Linked DNA regions of Homo sapiens: regions 1, 2, 3, 5, 6 and 7 are each linked to region 4. The links are contacts of gene promoters, found by promoter capture Hi-C in blood cells and fetal thymus (Javierre and others, 2016). All regions are on one chromosome and are shown on one strand. Each heading gives the region's core, a stretch centred on a gene start or on the middle of the fragment in contact. The rest is flanking DNA. Distances are from core to core; before and after follow the strand shown. Region 1 overlaps LYPLAL1-AS1 (LYPLAL1 antisense RNA 1). Region 2 overlaps LYPLAL1-AS1 (LYPLAL1 antisense RNA 1). Region 3 overlaps LYPLAL1-AS1 (LYPLAL1 antisense RNA 1). Region 4 holds the start of TGFB2 (transforming growth factor beta 2). Region 5 overlaps LYPLAL1-AS1 (LYPLAL1 antisense RNA 1). Region 6 overlaps LYPLAL1-AS1 (LYPLAL1 antisense RNA 1). Region 7 overlaps LYPLAL1-AS1 (LYPLAL1 antisense RNA 1).

Region 1 (3,072 bases), core at 503-3,002, 1.1 Mb after region 4:
GTGTTCTTAGGAGATTTCACTCTGTTGTAACTGAATGTGATGCTGTACTGGAAAAAAAAAAATAAAGCAGAGCGCTGGGCCTGGGATAATGGTCCAGCTTGTCTGGACCCCATGTCCCCTCATCATGGGAGAAAGCATTTATTCCTTCTCTCTTTCACTCTTTGCTACAACAGATATCAAGTGAGCATGTACATGCAGCACACTCTGCGTGGCAGGCACTGGATATTCCTGAGTGAACAAAAGATGCACAGTCATTGATGTCATGGTGATCACAATCAAGTAGGGTGGAGCAGACAATAAACAAACACATAGATAAAACTGCAAATCCTTAAAGGTCTTATTGGATGCCAGAGATAAATACTTCCACTAAAAATGTCTTAGACAGTAAAGAGATTTAAAAACTAAGACATAGGGTGGTTCCAACAGTGGTCCAGCGACTCAGTCATGCCACTAAGGACCCAGAACTTTCTATCTTCTCAAGTTCCATCTTCAGCATGCTGAAACTTTCTACTTCAGTGGCTTTTTGAGATATTTTTCTAAAGACAGTTCCTTCTCCACAAGAAAATTAACAGCACCTGTTAGATAAAATTCAAAATTAAATTATTTACAGAAAGTTGTTATTAGCCTGCACTTAACTTGCATCTCTTTGATGGGCTTAGTGTACAATGTTATCTTCCTAATGTTAATAATAGTGAAAGATCAGGCTGGGTGCGGTGGCTCATGCCTGTAATCAATCCCAGTACTTTGGGAGGCCGAGGCAGGCGGATCACGAGGTCAGGAGTTTGAGACCAGCCTGGCCAACATAGTGAAACCCCGTCTGTACTAAAAATACAAAAAATAAGCTGGGTGTGGTGGTGCATGCCTGTAGTCCCAGCTACTCGGGAGGCTGAGGCAGGAGAATCACTTGAACCCGGGAGGTGGAGGTTGCAGTGAGCCGAGACCACACCATTACACTCCAGCCTGGGTGACATAGTGAGATTCCGTCCCAAAAATGATAATAATAATAATAATAATAGTGAAAGATCAGTGACACATCCCACATTCATTTAAAGCATTTGCAATGTCTGTTCTCATACAGTTTGTTCAAGTAATGCTGTCTACACAGTCTGCACCAGAATGCAAAATTTTGAAGAGAACTAGCCCCAATCCTTGTCTATACTCCTTTTCATTCTGCCCCAGTGCCATCTCCTATTACAAGAAGCTTCACACATAGACACAGGAACACACTAGCCCGTACACCCACACTCCAGTCACAGACTGTACAAGATCAGCCATAGTCACTGGTGTGCTTTGGGGTGCTCATACCTGTGTGCTGCCTGCTCTTAAAAGAAGACACCTGGGCAAGAGGCCCTCGCAGGCCCTGGAAGTAGGCTTTGGCCACTTGGACATAAAAGTCTGGGGTTCTAGCCTCCTAGAGGGATAGCCACTTTATGTCTTTAAAGAACTCTAGGTGCCTTTGTATTTGTGGGCCCCCTTTTCCATAAAATAAATCACAAGTTATGTCTTACGACTGTGTTGGTATAGAAATAAATATATTAATATGATGTCAGATATGTTTTCAACCTAAAAGTTCATTCTTTTTTTTCTGATTTTAAAAGAAATTTGAACATTTTTGTGGCCCCTAACAGTAATAGGGGCCCTTGGCACTCCACCTATTGTACCTAAAAGATAAATCTGCCTGCCCGGAGCTTAGTCTTGAAGGGGGAAGGAGTGTGTGCTCTAATTTGGCCTAGAGATTCCTTGCCCCATGGGAAGAGGCATAGCCAGAGCAGACCCTTAAGTCTGGACCCTTAAGTCACAGGGCTCAGATTTGGGGTTCCTCATCCACAAGGCTAAGTGTGTTACCATTTCATAATAAACATGTGCACTCAAGTGGGCAGTGAATTTTATTATTATGAAGAGCGTTGAGTTAATACTTGTTCTGCATTTGTATTAGTAAAGATCACATTCTGGTGGCTCTCCTCCATAAGAGAACAGCTGGCTCTGAAAAATGAAAGAACTTCTAGGGAGTCAAAACAACATCTTGCAACTTCTAAATAACAATTTTTCCAGGTTCTTTGCTTCAGTGTTTCAAAAAAATAAATCTCAGGGTTTAGTTTGAGATTGGGAACTCTGTTACACTATTTTTTCTTGATATATTAGACAACACAGAATTAACCAAGAAGGCTAGGAGAAAACTCTGGGTGCCTGTGAAGTTCTATGAACCACCTCTCTTACCTCTAGTGTATACAGAGTGGACTAGGTGTTTAGTGTTATCCTCTGAAGTAGCTGTAGTTTGCTTCTCCTCCTCCCATTCAAATACTTTAAGCTTCTCAGTACTTCTCTCTGGAAAATACTGGGAGTGTGACCCCACCAGTTAGTAGAAGTTGGAGTGCCACAGGGCTGGGTGAGCTCAGAGCAGGAGCAGGAATGCCACCATCAGCCTGTGGGACTCTCCCCTTCTCACACCATCTTTCCATGTTCTGCCCATCATCCCACCTGTAAAGCATTAATAACTAGGACATCCTGTTTTCTTTCTCTCTTCCCACCCCACTCCATCCCTCCTAAATAGCTCTCAAATCTTCCACGTCTTCTTCATCTCAAAGCCAGTATCCCAGCTAAGGACCTCACTGTCTCTTACCCGAACTCTTGCAATACACCCATTCCTGGTTTCCCTGACTCTGATCCTTCCCCTCCCTCCCTACATTTCCATATTAAATTGCAATAGGAGGGATCTCACATAGATCTGTGCTGCCAGGTACCTCTCCCAAACTGGAGTTCAGGGAAATGTTTCAGTAGATATTAAATATATATTTTATCTTGCCCCCTTTGGTACAATCTTTTATTCTATTGTTTTTAGGGTGTGCAACAATTAAGTCCCTTCTCTCCCTGGTCCCAAAGACACTCTGTATTTTATTTTATTATTTTATTGTATTTATTTTATTTTATTTTATTTTATTTTATTTTATGAAGGAATCTCAGTCTGTCACCCAAGCTAGAGTGCAGTGGTGTGATCTCAGCTCACTGCAACCTCCACCTCCCCGGTTCAAGTGATTATCCTGCCTCAGTCTCCCGTGTAGCTGGGATTACAGG
Region 2 (2,885 bases), core at 108-2,607, 1.2 Mb after region 4:
GAGGGGAAGTCCATTGAACCTCCACTAGATAGAATTTATTTGCATGTGTATAGATAAAAATTATTTGCCCTACTGTCAGTTTTCTACATGTTAACTTATATCTACAGAATTGTAAAACAGCTCAGACAGTGAAAGGGAGACACTACATAGAATCAAATAATCGCAAAGGTATTCTCTAAACCAGTTGTTCCCAACACTTTTGCACCAGGGACCAGTTTCATGGAAGACAATTATTACACAGGATGGTGGGGAGCGGGGTATAGTTTCGGGATAAAACTGTTCCACCTCAGATCATCAGGCATTAGATTCTCATAAGGAGCGTGCAACCTAGGTCCCTCACATGCACAGTTCACAACAGGGTCTGCACTCCTATAAGAATCTAATGACAGGAGGCTGAGCTCAGGTGGTAATACTTGCTCACTTTCTGCTCACCTTCTGCTGTGCAGACCAGTTCCTAACAGCCCACAGATGGTACCTGCTGGTGGTTGAGGACCCCTGCTCTAAACAATGCAAAGTTTTCTACTGAAAACACCTGCTAATCTTTTGGTTCATTTAAAAGTCTTTCACAATTTCACCTTACTATAGTCTAAACCACTGGTTTAGAAGGATTTCTAAATTACCTCTAAATTTCTGTTACCTGTTGCTGCTAAACAGATAACAGAAGTCTACCTCTAGAATGCTGTCTCCTTTTCCTTAGGCTAACCTTTCTAGCAGAATGTTGGTTGGAGCAACTAAAAAAATAGAGTACTGGGGTACTGGGGCCACATTGGACTTACAGAGCAGACTATATTGTGCTTGTCTGCTCATAAAGGTTTGTTTAAAAATGTCTACACCAACAATGAAATTTACCAAAAGCTTGCTTACATTATAACTTTGTAGCAAGGTTGTGGTGGAATAGTAGCCCTTATCAACTTCAAACATTTTGGGCTATTACCTTTATCTATCAAAAAGAACCCAAGATGTACATAAACAAATTGACAGGTAGATTTGCAACAGGCAGAAACTACTACCATGGTTAGTCCCCCCCTTTTTTCCCATTTGGAAGAAGGTTATTAATTCCGCTTACTAAAGGTCAGAAGTAGCATTTATAAAAGATTTTGAGTGGGGCCTATAATGGGTTTTAACATCTGTGAGCACCCATCTGGCTGTTAATATTTTGCTCCTAGTTCACGTTTTGTCTAGTCCTAGTGTGGCATAGACAACCTACTCAACCTGAAGTCAAAGGAACCAGAAAACACAATTTTTATTCTTTATCTATTCCTGGCCCACTCTGCCAGCCCCAGATTTCTCTCTTGATGACAACCTCCCTTTATTTAATCTTTGAGGAAGGCGGCAGTGGGAAGAGGAGGGAGGCAGGTGCGGAACCTCAAGCTCAGCATCTCTGAGTCAATATTTTGTGCTCTTTTTAAGTAAGACTATATCACTGGACTATAAAATACTTTGGCAATAACTACATCAAGATGTAAACACGTATTACTGGTGAGTAAGTACACTCAGCTTACCCAGCTTGGTTATAGAATTAGAATTTCCATACACCTCCAAATGAACCCCTGAAAGCAGGCCTCAGTGAAAAGGAGATAAAACAAAGACTACAACATATGGTTTATCTTTTCAGTAATTACATTTTCAAATGTAATCTTATACACTTTTTCCTCTTAAATAAAGTCTTGTTTAAAACCAAATGTTTCTCTGTTAACACAGAGTAGGCAAATGAGAGTCCACACGTGGATATTGAGATATTCAGTGGTTTCATGGTTTTGAAAAGTTTGAATTAACATGCTGTACTTGTGGCCTCCTGGAGAATAAGGCTGTGCAAAGGGAAAAGTGGTTAAGAACTGGGCTTGTGTCTTCCACATAGACAAGCTTTTTCAGGCCACACTCAGTTGCAGAATCAGCATTTTCTTCAGAGGAGAGGGCAACTGTGCACTGTAACATATCCCACATGTCCGTATCAGAATAGCAAATTTCTTGCTCTGGGAAAGAAATCTACCTTCAGCTCGCCTCCTAAGTAGAAGGCTTCTACAGAATTCTTTATGTGTCTGAAGTCACTCTAAGTGGAAAATGTAGCTGCTTTTAGGTTTTAATAAAGCTAACGTGACCAACCATATTTATGAATGATCACATTTGGAGTCTGTTTTCTACTATTCTGGTGATAATATGAGATTACCACACCTTTCCAAATGCCTGAATTTTCTGTTCATGTGTCAGGAAACATGTTATTCCTTCATAGGGAAGAAAAATTGTCTTTGCTAATATAACTTTTTAAGAAATCAGACAGCAACAGGGCAGGAGTCTGAAGGCAGCACAGGGCCTTAGAGATGGGCTAGTGCAGATTAAGCAAGAGAAAGGCAGATGACATTTAGAAGTCAAAGAAGGATGGCAAATACTATGGTTTTCTTTGCTCAGCCCCTATTTAACCCTCCTTCTTCCTTGTTCCGCAGAGTGAGACAAGCTGAAGTCCACATTTCCCACACTTCTTAGCAACTGGTGTTGCGAATACAAATTAGATTCTACCAGTCAGATGTAGTTGCCTGAGATTTACAGATAAGGAGGGAAGGCTATTTTCACGCAGATGTCCCTGCTGGCAAACCATGCCATAAAGATGTAACTATTGAGAGGCCATTTCTTAGTCTGTTTTGTGTTGTTATAGCACAATACCTGACTCTGGGTCATTTACAAATTGAAGAGGTTTATTTGGCTTATGATTCTGGTGGCTGAAGAGTCCAAGATTGGGCAGCTGACTCTAGTTAGAACTTCATGCTGCTTCTACTCATTGTGGAAAATGGAAGGGGAGCTGGCCTGTGCAAAAAGTTTACATGGCAAAAGAGGAAGCAAAAGAAAGAAACCAAGGAAGCCAGGCTCTTCTTAAAACACTGTCCTAAGAA
Region 3 (2,869 bases), core at 128-2,627, 1.1 Mb after region 4:
GGACGTATTTCAAAATAATAAGAGCTATCTATGACAAACCCACAGCCAATATCATACTGAATGGGCAAAAACTGGAAGCATTCCCTTTGAAAACTGGCACAAGACAGGGATGCCCTCTCTCACCACTCCTATTCAACATAGTGTTGGAAGTTCTGGCCAGGGCAATTAGGCAGGAGAAGGAAATAAAGGGTATTCAATTAGGAAAAGAGGAAATCAAATTGTCCCTGTTTGCAGACGACATGATTGTATATCTAGAAAACCCCATTGTTTCAGCCCAAAATCTCCTTAAGCTGATAAACAACTTCAGCAAAGTCTCAGGATACAAAATCAATGTACAAAAATCACAAGCATTCTTATACACCAACAACAGACAAACAGAGAGCCAAATCATGAGTGAACTCCCATTCACAATTGCTTCAAAGAGAATAAAATACCTAGGAATCCAACTTACAAGGGATGTGAAGGACCTCTTCAAGGAGAACTACAAACCACTGCTCAAGGAAATAAAAGAGGATACAAACAAATGGAAGAACATTCCATGCTCATGGGTAGGAAGAATCAACATCGTGAAAATGGCCATACTGCCCAAGGTAATTTACAGATTCAATGCCATCCCCATAAAGCTACCAATGACTTTCCTCACAGAATTGGAAAAAACTACTTTAAAGTTCATATGGAACCAAAAAAGAGCCCGCATCGCCAAGTCAATCCTAAGCCAAAAGAACAAAGCTGGAGGCGTCACACTACCTGACTTCAAACTATACTACAAGGCTACAGTAACCAAAACAGCATGGTACTGGTACCAAAACAGAGATATAGATCAATGGAACAGAACAGAGCCCTCAGAAATAACGCCGCATATCTACAACTATCTGATCTTTGACAAACCTGAGAAGAACAAGCAATGGGGAAAGGATTCCCTATTTAATAAATGGTGCTGGGAAAACTGGCTAGCCATATGTAGAAAGCTGAAACTGGATCCCTTCCTTACACCTTATACAAAAATCAATTCAAGATGGATTAAAGATTTAAACCTTAGACCTAAAACCATAAAAACCCTAGAAGAAAACCTAGGCATTACCATTCAGGACATAGGCATGGGCAAGGACTTCATGTCCAAAACACCAAAAGCAATGGCAACAAAAGCCAAAATTGAGAAATGGGATCTAATTAAACTAAAGAGCTTCTGCACAGCAAAAGAAACTACCATCAGAGTGAACAGGCAACCTACAAAATGGGAGAAAATTTTCGCAACCTACTCATCTGACAAAGGGCTAATATCCAGAATCTACAATGAACTCAAACAAATTTACAAGAAAAAAACAAACAACCCCATCAAAAAGTGGGTGAAGGACATGAACAGACACTTCTCAAAAGAAGACATTTATGCAGCCAAGAAACACATGAAAAAATGCTCATCATCACTGGCCATCAGAGAAATGCAAATCAAAACCACAATGAGATACCATCTCACACCAGTTAGAATGGCAATCATTAAAAAGTCAGGAAACAACAGGTGCTGGAGAGGATGTGGAGAAATAGGAACACTTTTACACTGTTGGTGGGACTGTAAACTAGTTCAACCATTGTGGAAGTCAGTGTGGCAATTCCTCAGGGATCTAGAACTAGAAATACCATTTGACCCAGCCATCCTATTACTGGGTATATACCCAAAGGACTATAAATCATGCTGCTATAAAGACACATGCACACGTATGTTTATTGCGGCATTATTCACAATAGCAAAAACTTGGAACCAACCCAAATGTCCAACAATGATAGACTGGATTAAGAAAATGTGGCACATATACACCATGGAATACTACGCAGCCATAAAAAATGATGAGTTCGTGTCCTTTGTAGGGACATGGATGAAATTGGAAATCATCATTCTCAGTAAACTATCACAAGAACAAAAAACCAAACACGGCATATTCTCACTCATAGGTGGGAACTGAACAATGAGATCACATGGACACAGGAAGGGGAATATCACACTCTGGGGACTGTGGTGGGGTGGGGGGAGGGGGGAGGGATAGCATTGGGAGATATACCTAATGCTAGATAACGAGTTAGTGGGTGCAGCGCACCAGCATGGCACATGTATACATATGTAACTAACCTGCACAATGTGCACATGTACCCTAAAACTTAAAGTATAATAATAAAAAAAAGAGTGGGATAGTAAAGAAGAGACAATTATAAAAAATCAACCTGAGATCAAACACTCAACTAAGCCAATGTCTAGGGAATATAAAATGGTTAATTCAGGCAAAGACCAATACCCTGCACCATCTTGCCCTCTAACACTTAAATGAAAGTTTGTGTTTGCAATATTGACATGAAGGCTCTAAAAATCCTCAGACAACAAAGAAAGATATAGCTATGCTTGCAACATGGGAATTTGCTAAGGGCATTTTGTAAGGATTATTTTAAAAGTGTTGAAATAATGATTTTCTGACTAACCTACAATTAACCACAACATTAAGTTAACCCAAATGTTGCAGTTCCTTCAAAGTTCTGCATAATTACAATCTTCCCACTGTTTCATACTTACCTCCCTAGGATTTTTTTCCTAGGGAGTTATTCTATATATTAAACAACCAAACACAGCCCAGGCATTCAAAGCTGAACTTCTTTCCATAATTAAAAAAGTACTTTAAAAAGCCAACTTCTTTCTGTACTTAAAATAACACTATCGGATCTGGCTACATGGGAATCCGGCAGAGGACATGTCCCACTGCCCTGGACTCATTGAATTACTGTGGCCCCAGGAGGTACATTTTTCTATCATTTTGGAATTCTGATTTTTTAAATTTTAAATTAATTTACTGCTTCAAAAGCACCAGTGATATTCTTGTATATCTCT
Region 4 (2,822 bases), core at 194-2,693:
AATGTTCCAGAATGAGGAATCTAAGAGGACAGGAGAGTACCCAGTATCTCCCAAACTTGTTTGACTCCAGAATTCCTGTTTGTCAGAACATATTCTGGGACCATTGTTTCTCAGAAGTACATAGTAGGTAAGAACATAGTGGATCCTGACTGCAAAAATCCAGCTCTACCACTTACTGTGGTCTCGAACAAAGTACTTAACTTCTTTGTACCTCAGTCTCCTCATCTGCCAGATATGGATAATAAGACCCACTTTATAGGTTCATAGTGAAGATTAAATGACCATACACAACACACATCAAATTACTAAGTGTAGTATATGTTAGCTATTATTATTTTATTTATTCAGTGCTCTACTAATAACCTAGGCCCCATACACAACTGAAGTATAAATTCCAAAAGTGATAGAAAGTTCTTTGTGACTTTTCTGAACTCAGGAACATCTGAAGTAGAGAACAGTATAGAGATCTTGGGTTTGGGAGTACATTCAACAGAGTTTCCAGTTTAAATCATCTGTCTGGTCAGTATGGCTGCAGAGTCATGCCGAAATGAAAATGTTGACTTTGAGTAACTAAAGGTAAAATAAAAGAAAAAGGGAAGGTGGAACAGTGGTAAGAGTTATTCTTGTATTCATCTAATTTAGACTTAGTTGAAATTGAAAATGTCAAGTTATGAGTAGTGTAGAACAGTAGACATCAAACACTTAAAATTCCAGCTTCCTGGATTAATGCTATGGAAAGAATGAAGTTGGTTGATAATGTTTAGCCTAGCAAGAAGGTGAAGAAGAAAGCCATACAAGAAGTGGCTTAGGCAGCAAATTATAAAGGTGACCATTCATTCAAATCAGTAAAACAAACAAGTATACCTTATTCTTTAGGTAAAATTGATGGATCTCTGTTTTCCAGCAGTTCACAAACAGAGGGGTACATTGTAAACAACAAACTAACAAAATAAATTCTGGGATGGCAACCTGCTAAGGTATCCCAGAAAATAAGAGGTAGGACATGAATTTAAAAGATTGGAAGGTATGTCTTCAGTACTGGCCTGGCCCTGAGTAGACTAGTGCTCCCTCCCATAGGGGTGCGTGTGCACACATAATACAGGAGGGAAGCCTTCCCTTCTAGAGCAAGTGATTCAGCTTGGGAGGCTGTGACTGAGCTACACTAAGTAAAAACGGGAGACTTGATTGTCCTTCCTTCAACAGACCTGTCCAAAATGACTGGAAAGTAAATACCGTAAATCACTGTTGTCAGGGCGCACATTCCACCTCCTTCCTCCCTTACCCACAGCGGTCCTCATTTCCACACTCCCTCAACGGTTCGGGGAGAGCTCGTGGTCTAAGTAACGAGAGGACTTCTGACTGTAATCCTAGCACGTCACTTTGTTGAAGGCAGACACGTGGTTCAGAGAGAACTTATAAATCTCCCCTCCCCGGCAAGATCGTGATGTTATCTGCTGGCAGCAGAAGGTTCGCTCCGAGCGGAGCTCCAGAAGCTCCTGACAAGAGAAAGACAGATTGAGATAGAGATAGAAAGAGAAAGAGAGAAAGAGACAGCAGAGCGAGAGCGCAAGTGAAAGAGGCAGGGGAGGGGGATGGAGAATATTAGCCTGACGGTCTAGGGAGTCATCCAGGAACAAACTGAGGGGCTGCCCGGCTGCAGACAGGAGGAGACAGAGAGGATCTATTTTAGGGTGGCAAGTGCCTACCTACCCTAAGCGAGCAATTCCACGTTGGGGAGAAGCCAGCAGAGGTTGGGAAAGGGTGGGAGTCCAAGGGAGCCCCTGCGCAACCCCCTCAGGAATAAAACTCCCCAGCCAGGGTGTCGCAAGGGCTGCCGTTGTGATCCGCAGGGGGTGAACGCAACCGCGACGGCTGATCGTCTGTGGCTGGGTTGGCGTTTGGAGCAAGAGAAGGAGGAGCAGGAGAAGGAGGGAGCTGGAGGCTGGAAGCGTTTGCAAGCGGCGGCGGCAGCAACGTGGAGTAACCAAGCGGGTCAGCGCGCGCCCGCCAGGGTGTAGGCCACGGAGCGCAGCTCCCAGAGCAGGATCCGCGCCGCCTCAGCAGCCTCTGCGGCCCCTGCGGCACCCGACCGAGTACCGAGCGCCCTGCGAAGCGCACCCTCCTCCCCGCGGTGCGCTGGGCTCGCCCCCAGCGCGCGCACACGCACACACACACACACACACACACACGCACGCACACACGTGTGCGCTTCTCTGCTCCGGAGCTGCTGCTGCTCCTGCTCTCAGCGCCGCAGTGGAAGGCAGGACCGAACCGCTCCTTCTTTAAATATATAAATTTCAGCCCAGGTCAGCCTCGGCGGCCCCCCTCACCGCGCTCCCGGCGCCCCTCCCGTCAGTTCGCCAGCTGCCAGCCCCGGGACCTTTTCATCTCTTCCCTTTTGGCCGGAGGAGCCGAGTTCAGATCCGCCACTCCGCACCCGAGACTGACACACTGAACTCCACTTCCTCCTCTTAAATTTATTTCTACTTAATAGCCACTCGTCTCTTTTTTTCCCCATCTCATTGCTCCAAGAATTTTTTTCTTCTTACTCGCCAAAGTCAGGGTTCCCTCTGCCCGTCCCGTATTAATATTTCCACTTTTGGAACTACTGGCCTTTTCTTTTTAAAGGAATTCAAGCAGGATACGTTTTTCTGTTGGGCATTGACTAGATTGTTTGCAAAAGTTTCGCATCAAAAACAACAACAACAAAAAACCAAACAACTCTCCTTGATCTATACTTTGAGAATTGTTGATTTCTTTTTTTTATTCTGACTTTTAAAAACAACTTTTTTTTCCACTTTTTTAAAAAATGCACTACTGTG
Region 5 (2,739 bases), core at 140-2,639, 1.2 Mb after region 4:
ACACAGGCAGATGAGTAGTTAAGCAATCCCAGAACTTTGCATGTCACTTGGCCCAGAACCAGGCACATGTAAAGGTCTTCACTTGCCAAAAACACACCAGGGACCTCTTAAGCAATCAAGAATTGCTACATGTGTGCAAGAGCTAACATCTTGAAGACAATTGAAATTGGTAATTCAGTTACCCTTTGTTTCTCATACATTTACCCTCTGAGCATCTCGACATGCTGGAGCATGGAGATCCAAACTGGAAACCCTTGAATGCTCCTTCTGCTTGTGGAAAGGTGACAAGGGCATTCCTTCTTGTTCACAACTGGGCATCATGAAGAGGAATGGAGGACTGGTGGAGGACTGGACTCTACTCTCAAGAATCTCTGGGGAAATGAGAAAAAAAAAAGGGAAACAGCGACAGAAGAAAAAGCAGCAAAACAAAGGACACACTAAAACCAAGAAGAGTGAAATAACAAAAGGAAGCCAAAGAGAAACTCAACCAAGGGTCAGGTTCTACTTCTTGTATAGTTCTTTTGGGACCACTGATAACATAAGTACATAAGTAGGAACTGATCCTCAAAAAATGGGGCCTTTATTTACATGAAACAAGAAGGACTTATTTTTGCTCGTGGCATTTGTTCTATTTAAAGGGAAGTGAACTACCTCCAGTCTTTCCCGCATATGAGTATTCCACTTCTGAAAATGGGATCTCAAATATATAAGACATTATTCACTACCTGCATTTGATATGAGAAGAATTAAAGTATTCCCAGCAGTTTTATTCACATTTATTATAGTGGGCCAGGAGATTTTCCATAAAAATGAGTAGCTCCCAGTGGGGAAAAAAATGTATAGAATTTGCTGATCTTGAACACAGTGTATTTATATAATACGTTTTATCACCCATAGGCCTTACAGAGCTAGGTTTTCTCCTGGGAAGCACTGTTAATATTTCAACCTCTGTATATGCCAAATGGAAACAAAGATTATTTGAAAAGGTAAATACCAGGCTTTCATTCTTCCTGGCACAATACCGATGCTGCATATTTAACTTGAGTTACTAAGAAAACTGAGGGTCTTTTGCAAGATGTGGCAACATTATGCAAATGACTAATTCCAGTTAAATTCTTTTAAGTGAAATATGTTACTCAGCGGTCTTTTGATTGCAAGTGATAGAAAACTAATCAAATTAACTTAGAGGAAATTTACTCATAGATAATGAAGCATCTCACATTATCAAATGAAGGGTTAAATAACCAATTCACTGGAAGGACGAGAATGCTGCTAGCCCTCAAAAATAAATGCAACCAGAGTTTCAAACAGTGAGGATTTTCTGTGTCTCTTATGTTGCTTTTCTCTGTATGTCAACTTCTTTCTTTAAATTTCCTCCACAAGGCAAGAAACATGCCTTCTGGCCAGTCCTAAGCATCAAAGCATCATAGCTAACAGCTTTTAATAACAAAAAAGATTTTACCCTATTCTTTATTCAAATACCCAGGCAAAGGGTTCTGATCGGTTTGGCTATATCGGGTGCTCATCCTGTAAGCCGTAAAGTGATCCTTGCATCAGACTATCAGAATATGCTCTTTCCTCATGTTCCGTATGCCTCCATCATATGATTGTTTGGCAAAGTAAGAGTGAATGCTCTCTTCCTTTCAGTTCAGCACCAAGAGCAGCATCATGGTAAGTAATTTAGGAAGCATAAAATCAATGTGGGAGTCCTAGTTGGTCTACTCGTGAGCTGAGACCTTCAGACAAATCGCCCACCTCTTTGAGTTTGAGTTTCGACCTCAATAGAATCAGAGAAAGAAGCCCTTTCTCAAAAGAAGGGCTGACTGATGCAACAGCATGGATGAATCTTTCATTCATTACACTGGATGAAAGAAACTGGGAGCAAAGGAGGACATAGGATATCATTCTGTTATGAAATTCGAAAATAGAGCCAGGCACAGTGGCTCACACTTGTAATCTCAGCACTTTGGGAGACTGGAGCAGGAGGATTGCTTGAGCCCTGGAGTGTGAGACCAGCCTAGACAACATAGAGAGATCCTGTCTTAAAAAAAAAAGAGAGAGAGAGAGAGAGAAAGAAAGAAAGAGAAAATCTAAAAGAGGCGAGACTGTCTTATAGTGACAGAAACTCAATCAATGGTTACCTGGGTTGTGTGGTGGAGACTATTGAATGAAGAAGACATGAGGTAACTTTCTGGAAAAATTAAAATGTTCTACATCTCGATTCAGGTGGAGTTACGTAAGTGTATATATTTTGTCAAAAGTCTTTAACCCATACACTTAAAGTGTGAGAATTTCATTTTATGTAAATTGCACCTCAATAAAAGTTGAGTGTCTTTTAAAAGTATATCAGAGGCTTGAGATGAGCATGAAATGACGCAGGGCACATCAAAGCACTTTTTTTTTTCTTTTTGAGATGAAGTTTTGCTCTTGACGCCTAGGCTGGAGTGCAACGGCAGGATCTCGGCTTACTGCAACCTCCGCCTCCTGGGTTCAAGCAATTCTCTTGCCTCAGCCTCCTGAGTAGCTGGGACTACAGGTGCCTGCCACCACACCTGGCTAATTTTTGTATTTTTACTAGAGACAGGATTTCACCATGTTGGCCAGGCTGGTCTTGAACTCCTGACCTCAGGCCATCCACCTGCCTTGGCCCCCCAAAGTGCAGCGATTACAGGCGTGAGCCACTGCACCTGGCCCAAAGCACTTTTAAATCATAAAATAATATGCATATATCCTTGTTTT
Region 6 (2,907 bases), core at 368-2,867, 1.1 Mb after region 4:
GGAGAACCCACTTGAAGGGTAAAGGTTTTAGGAATGATGGAAATGTTTTGGAACTGGATAGCAGTGGTGGTGGCACAGTGCTGTGAATGGACTAAACACCACTGAATTGTTCACTTTCAAATGGTTAATTTAGAAATAAGAGAGGAGAAATAACAACAAAAAAGTTGAATGAGTAGTCACAGGATTCCCAAGTTCCCTAGCAATTAAGTTGTTTTCTTCAGCATAGGCCAGAAGTTCACTCAATATAGACACAGTGACAGATATAAAGTCAAGGTTTAGACTAGAGAAACTCAAGATTCCTTCTAGTTAGAAACTATGATAGTCTGTGATGATTTGTCATGATCTCCAGAGCTCTTCAAATAAAAACAAAATTATCTCCTATGACCCACAAGTTCTGCATGGCCTCACTGAACAAACCCTGTGTCCCCATCGCACACATCCCCTACTTATCTCATCCCATGTTGCCTCTTGTTCTAACTGTCCTGCTTTCTTTCAGTCCCTCATACATACCGTGATCTCTCCCTTTCTCCAGACCCTTGCACATGCATTTATATTCCCTACAATGCCCTCCCCTTTCTACCTGGTTAATTCTCACTCGTCCTCCAAGCATCATTCCTTCTGAGAAGATGGCTGTCACTCATTGCACCAAGATAACAAGGATCAAATATAGAGGAACCAAGAAAGGAAAAGAGAATGAAGGAAGAAGTGACTGTGGAGGCAGGATGGGCAAGACTTAATGACCTTAGGGATTAAGAATCACTGATTGGATCACAGAGGCTTTGCCAAACGCAAACTTATTTACATTTATTTGACTATTTATCATAATTTACATCATTTACCTAGTACATCTTATTCATACTTATATACTATACATATATTATATACTAGATATTAAAGTTTGTCTTCAACACTCTAATGTCCTTTCTTCATCTAACTGCATGCTGCTTAGAAACAAATTATATTGGGCTGGGCACAGTGGCTCATGCCTGTAATCCCAGCACTTTGGGAGGACAAGGTGGGTAGATCACCTGAGTTCGGGAGTTTGAGACCAGCCTGACCAACATGGAGAAACCCTGTCTCTAATAAAAATACAAAATTAGCCAGGCACAGTAGTGCATGCCGGTAATCCCAGCTACTCAGGAGGCTGAGGCAGGGGAATCGCTTGAACCTGGGAGGCGGAGGTTTCAGTGAGCCGAGATCGTGCCATTGCACTCCAGCCTGGGCAACAAGAGTGAAACTCTGCCCACCCCAAAAAGAAAGAAAGAAAGAAAGAAAGAAAGAAAGAAAGAAAGAAAGAAAGAAAGAAAGAAAGAAAGAAAGAAAGAAAGAAAGAAAGAAAGAAAGAAAGAAAGAAAGAAAGAAAGAAAGAAAGAAAGAAAGAAAGAAAGAAAGAGAAACAGAAAAAGAAAGAGAGAAAGAAAGAAAGAAAGAAAGAAAGAAAAGAAAAAGAAAGAGGGAAAGAAAGAAATCATATTCATCCTTCTATGCTACAGTTCACCTAGCCCAAAGCCTTGTCGGTGGTCAGCATTATTTCTAAATAAATATATATTCAATGAATGAATGAATAAATTGTTGCTGTGGTTTGCTGTTTAAGTTTCCAGGTCTGTTAGCAAACCCCAGACTTGTAAAATACTTGAAGGGCTGTGTACACTCCTTCTTTGTATCTTTCTTTGTGCACTGCTAAATCTTAAGCATATGATAGGGTTCAGGACATTTCTGAGGAAGAAAGGAATGACGAGTGAATGATTTCAGGCTATTTCTCAAGGAGAATGAGGAGTTTATTCAAGCCACCACCAGTTTCTATGAGTATAATGAATGCATTCAAATGTAAGTCTACACAAAACCTATTTAGGTAAGGCAGGCAGCCACCCAACCTGGAAGGACATTAGATAGAGAGGATTATTGCTTTATCATCGGTGTCACACTCACAGCTGTGAACTCGTGTGCAGCATAGTTCTATAACCTCAGGGGGACTGTCAGCTGTGGATGCTGAAAACACAGTTCTGCCACCAACAGCCCCTTTCTATTACAATGAATGACCCTCCTGTAGTTGGTGGTTGCAGTTTCAGCCATGGTGGTAGTCAGGGTTTGTAACACATCTCTACCTTTCACTCACACCATCTCCCCAACACATTCCCAAGTGAGAGTCAGCAGCTAGCTCTTCAACAAGGTAGTTTCCCTATAAATCTCAGCAGGAAGCAGCCTGGTGAAATGGGAAGAACACAAGATTGAGGGCCAACTCTTGCATTCTGCTCCCAAATATTTAACAACTCCATGTTGTTATATGTAACAACTCCATGGAGACTTTAGGAAAGAGGAAGGCAACTAGTGGTTTGCTGAGCACCTATTCTGTGCCAGACACTTTGTATGTCATTTATTTAATCAGCATCATAGCTTTACCTTATAGTTAACATTGCCTCTTTTTCACAGCTGGGGCAACAGAGGCTGAACAACTTGCCCAAGGCCAAATGTAGGATGTATAGAGAATTTGTACCCAGTTTTTCGGGTAAACTATTTCCCTTTTCTCTGAGCCTCAATTTTACCTATAAAAGAAAGAGATTAGGTGTACATGATTTAACACCTGCATAATTTTTCTAGAAACTTTTAACCTATTCCCTGATTTGTAACCATTACCACAGGAAGTAACACTGTAGCAAGAAGTAAAACAGAAACTGTCAAAAATAGACAAAATGAAGAGATATACTAAATTGAGTTCATCTCTTTGAATATTGGATTATGGAGAAGGCAGGTAATCTTCATACATCAACCTTGTGTATTGAATTAAAGATATTTTTAATAAATTCAAATATAACATTTTAGTGATTCAACAAATAATTTTTTTTCAGATTTTAAACATTATGCTATCCTATTGTTTAGTTTGTCCAAAAGATATATGATTTATTGAAG
Region 7 (2,988 bases), core at 194-2,693, 1.2 Mb after region 4:
TTTCCTATTTTTTTGGTGGAGACGGGGTTTCGCTGTGTTGGCCGGGCTGGTCTCCAGCTCCTAACCGCGAGTGATCTGCCAGCCTCGGCCTCCCGAGGTGCCGGGATTGCAGACGGAGTCTCGTTCACTCAGTGCTCAATGGTGCCCAGGCTGGAGTGCAGTGGCGTGATCTCGGCTCGCTACAACCACCTCCCAGCTGCCTGCCTTGGCCTCCCAAAGAGCCGAGATTGCAGCCTCTGCCCGGCCGCCACCCCATCTGGGAAGTGAGGAGCGTCTCTGCCTGGCCGCCCATCGTCTGGGATGTGAGGAGCCCCTCTGCCTGGCTGCCCAGTCTGGAAAGTGAGGAGCGTCTCTGCCCGGCCGCCATCCCATCTAGGAAGTGAGGAGCGCCTCTTCCCCGCCGCCATCCCATCTAGGAAGTGAGGAGCGTGTCTGCCCGGCCGCCCATCGTCTGGGATGTGGGGAGCGCCTCTGCCCCGCCGCCCCGTCTAGGATGTGAGGAGCGCCTCTGCCCGGCCGGGACCCCGTCTGGGAGGTGAGGAGCGTCTCTGCCCGGCCGCCCCATCTGAGAAGTGAGGAGACCCTCTGCCTGGCAACCGCCCCGTCTGAGAAGTGAGGAGCCCCTCCGTCCGGCAGCCACCCCGTCTGGGAAGTGAGGAGCGTCTCTGCCCGGCAGCCACCCCGTCCGGGAGGGAGGTGGGGGTCAGCCCCGCCAGGCCAGCGGCCCCGTCCTGGAGGGAGGTGGGGGGGTAAGCCCCCCGCCCGGCCAGCCGCCCCGTCCGGGAGGTGAGGGGCGCCTCTGCCCGGCTACCCCTACTGGGAGGTGAGGGGCGCCTCTGCCCGGCTACCCCTACTGGGAAGTGAGGAGCCCCTCTGCCCGGCCAGCCGCCACGTCCGGGAGGGAGATGGGGGGGTCAGCCCCCCGCCCGGCCAGCCGCCCCATCCGGGAGGTGAGGGGCGCCTCTGCCCGGCTACCCCTACTGGGAGGTGAGGGGCGCCTCTGCCCGGCTACCCCTACTGGGAAGTGAGGAGCCCCTCTGCCCGGCCAGCCGCCACGTCCGGGAGGGAGGTGGGGGGTTCAGCCCCCCGCCCGGCCAGCCGCCCCATCCGGGAGGTGAGGGGCGCTTCTGCCCGGCCGCCCCTACTGGGAAGTGAGGAGCCCCTCTGCCGGGCCACGACCCCGTCTGGGAGGTGTACCCAACAGCTCATTGAGAACGGGCCATGATGACAATGGCCGTTTTGTGGAATAGAAAGGCGGGAAAGGTGGGGAAAAGATTGAGAAATCGGATGGTTGCCGTGTCTGTGTAGAGAGAAGTAGACATGGGAGACTTTTCATTTTGTTCTGTACTAAGAAAAATTCTTCTGCCTTGGGATCCTGTTGATCTGTGACCTTACCCCCAACCCTGTGCTCTCTGAAACATGTGCTGTGTCCACTCAGGGTTAAATGGATTAAGGGCAGTGCAAGATGTGCTTTGTTAAACAGATGCTTGAAGGCAGCATGCTCGTTAAGAGTCATCACCACTCCCTAATCTTAAGTACCCAGGGACACAAACACTGCGGAAGGCCGCAGGGTCCTCTGCCTAGGAAAACCAGAGACCTTTGTTCACTTGTTTATCTGCTGACATTCCCTCCACTATTGTCCTATGACCCTGCCAAATCCCCCTCTGCGAGAAACACCCAAGAATGATCAATAAAAAAATAAATAAATAAAGTTCTATGAACAGAAAAAAAAAAAAAATTTATGTCCTAGATCCATTGAGGCAGTGTTTTTCCTCACTAACAAAAGAGTAGTTTGGGCAACAAAAGTCCTGTCTGAGACTAGAACAAGACAGTAGTTCTGGGTCTGATGTCTTAAATGGCTAGGCCTATAGGTAGTCATTAAGTGCATCAAAGACAATTTCTTAATGGGTGGATCCTCAACTTGCTAAAACTTAACTGTAAGTGTTTAGAAGGCAGACTTAAGCATTTGTTAATTGACTGGCTTACTGGCCTAGGAGTTGAAGGTAACCGTGGCTTAGTTCAGCACATATGCACACTTTTAAAAGGAATTATAAAGTGTCTCAGATAACAAAAGAAATCTAAGTCTTCAGAAGTTCCTCTTGCAGTCAAGAAGGCGAGAGTGGTGAGAGCTCAGAAGGCTTGTCAACATTTTTTTATTCCATTTTTAGAATCACATCATTCAAAATGATGTTTTCAATTATTCCTGCTTTTAAATTGAATTTTGCCTGGAAACAAATACACCACACCACTTTTAGTGCGAACACCCTGTAAAAGGCACCGAGAATGTGGAATCGATTTTTAGACTGTGCACGAGGCCTTAATATTCGCCAAATCACACCACTCCTTTTAAAACATATCTCAAGTTGGTCATCTGCTGGGGAGCATTGCTTCATTCTTATTGATCTTCCTCCAACCCACCAGCACTAACCCGAATCCACCTTTCTCAGTGTGCAGTGTTGTGGTTTTTGTATTTATCTGCCTTCGTGCCTATGTTTTTTTGTCTGAATATTTTGTATCTTTTCCATCTCTATTTGATTGGGCCCAACCTCCTTCTTTACTAAGTGCCCCAAGAAACATGATATGATCCTATCAACACAGCTAATCAACTAGTCCTTATTTATTATTATTCAAGCAATAAGCATACACACAGAATTACTGCAACTGAGAAGACATTTTCTATTATAACTTTCTTCTTTGCCTATCACCTAGAAATTGATGGTTGCCTTCTTTTCCCCTTCCTTCTCCATTATAGTGGGTAAAGGGGACACGATGTATATTAGTCTCTTCTCACGCTGCTAATAAAGACATAACCAAGACTGGGTAATTTATAAAGGAAAGAGGTTTAATGGACTCACAGTTCCACATGGCTGGAGAGGCCTTACAATCATGGTGGAAGGTGAATGGGGAGCAAAGTCATGTCTTACATAGCTGCAAGCAAGAAAGTGTGTGCAGGGGAACTCCCATTTATAAAACTATCAGATCTCATGA

The links. The method cuts DNA at HindIII sites, captures the fragments that hold promoters and counts their contacts. A CHiCAGO score of 5 or more calls a contact.
Region 1: a fragment that was not itself captured here is called in contact with the fragment with the promoter of TGFB2 in region 4 in 3 of 17 cell types (naive CD4 T cells, total CD4 T cells and monocytes); the score reaches 6.7 in naive CD4 T cells.
Region 2: a contact is called between a fragment that was not itself captured here and the fragment with the promoter of TGFB2 in region 4, in 2 of 17 cell types (monocytes and M0 macrophages). The highest score is 8.4, in monocytes.
Region 3: a fragment that was not itself captured here is called in contact with the fragment with the promoter of TGFB2 in region 4 in 2 of 17 cell types (monocytes and M0 macrophages); the score reaches 9.9 in monocytes.
Region 5: a contact is called between a fragment that was not itself captured here and the fragment with the promoter of TGFB2 in region 4, in 2 of 17 cell types (M0 macrophages and monocytes). The highest score is 6.4, in M0 macrophages.
Region 6: a fragment that was not itself captured here is called in contact with the fragment with the promoter of TGFB2 in region 4 in 1 of 17 cell types (monocytes); the score reaches 6.2 in monocytes.
Region 7: a fragment that was not itself captured here is called in contact with the fragment with the promoter of TGFB2 in region 4 in 1 of 17 cell types (monocytes); the score reaches 5.9 in monocytes.

The regions. Positions count from the first base shown.
Region 1 is chr1:219,434,839-219,437,910 of GRCh38, forward strand. LYPLAL1-AS1 (LYPLAL1 antisense RNA 1) reads right to left here. Exons shown (of 4, transcript NR_135822.1): 3 at 2,218-2,335; 4 at 320-575. It also overlaps a transcript of LYPLAL1 not described here. Among named protein-coding and RNA genes, the nearest start is that of LYPLAL1-AS1, 120 kb to the right of the region's middle. The HindIII fragment of the contact is 1,107 bases long and covers 1,200-2,306 here.
Region 2 is chr1:219,526,301-219,529,185 of GRCh38, forward strand. All of the region lies in intron 1 of LYPLAL1-AS1 (LYPLAL1 antisense RNA 1), which reads right to left. Among named protein-coding and RNA genes, the nearest start is that of LYPLAL1-AS1, 30 kb to the right of the region's middle. The HindIII fragment of the contact is 1,008 bases long and covers 854-1,861 here.
Region 3 is chr1:219,455,896-219,458,764 of GRCh38, forward strand. All of the region lies in intron 2 of LYPLAL1-AS1 (LYPLAL1 antisense RNA 1), which reads right to left. Among named protein-coding and RNA genes, the nearest start is that of LYPLAL1-AS1, 100 kb to the right of the region's middle. The HindIII fragment of the contact is 3,156 bases long and covers 1-2,869 here.
Region 4 is chr1:218,343,893-218,346,714 of GRCh38, forward strand. It overlaps TGFB2 (transforming growth factor beta 2), which reads left to right and starts at 1,444. Exons shown (of 7, transcript NM_003238.6): 1 at 1,444-2,822. The coding sequence starts at 2,810. TGFB2-AS1 (TGFB2 antisense RNA 1) reads right to left here and starts at 1,786. Exons shown (of 3, transcript NR_046268.1): 1 at 1,711-1,786; 2 at 1,283-1,496; 3 at 304-570. RefSeq lists a silencer at 1,372-1,431 and an enhancer at 1,812-1,861. The HindIII fragment of the contact is 5,586 bases long and covers 1-2,822 here.
Region 5 is chr1:219,498,782-219,501,520 of GRCh38, forward strand. All of the region lies in intron 1 of LYPLAL1-AS1 (LYPLAL1 antisense RNA 1), which reads right to left. Among named protein-coding and RNA genes, the nearest start is that of LYPLAL1-AS1, 57 kb to the right of the region's middle. RefSeq lists an enhancer at 2,702-2,739. The HindIII fragment of the contact is 3,970 bases long and covers 1-2,739 here.
Region 6 is chr1:219,474,282-219,477,188 of GRCh38, forward strand. All of the region lies in intron 1 of LYPLAL1-AS1 (LYPLAL1 antisense RNA 1), which reads right to left. Among named protein-coding and RNA genes, the nearest start is that of LYPLAL1-AS1, 82 kb to the right of the region's middle. The HindIII fragment of the contact is 5,351 bases long and covers 1-2,907 here.
Region 7 is chr1:219,545,174-219,548,161 of GRCh38, forward strand. All of the region lies in intron 1 of LYPLAL1-AS1 (LYPLAL1 antisense RNA 1), which reads right to left. Among named protein-coding and RNA genes, the nearest start is that of LYPLAL1-AS1, 11 kb to the right of the region's middle. The HindIII fragment of the contact is 6,469 bases long and covers 1-2,988 here.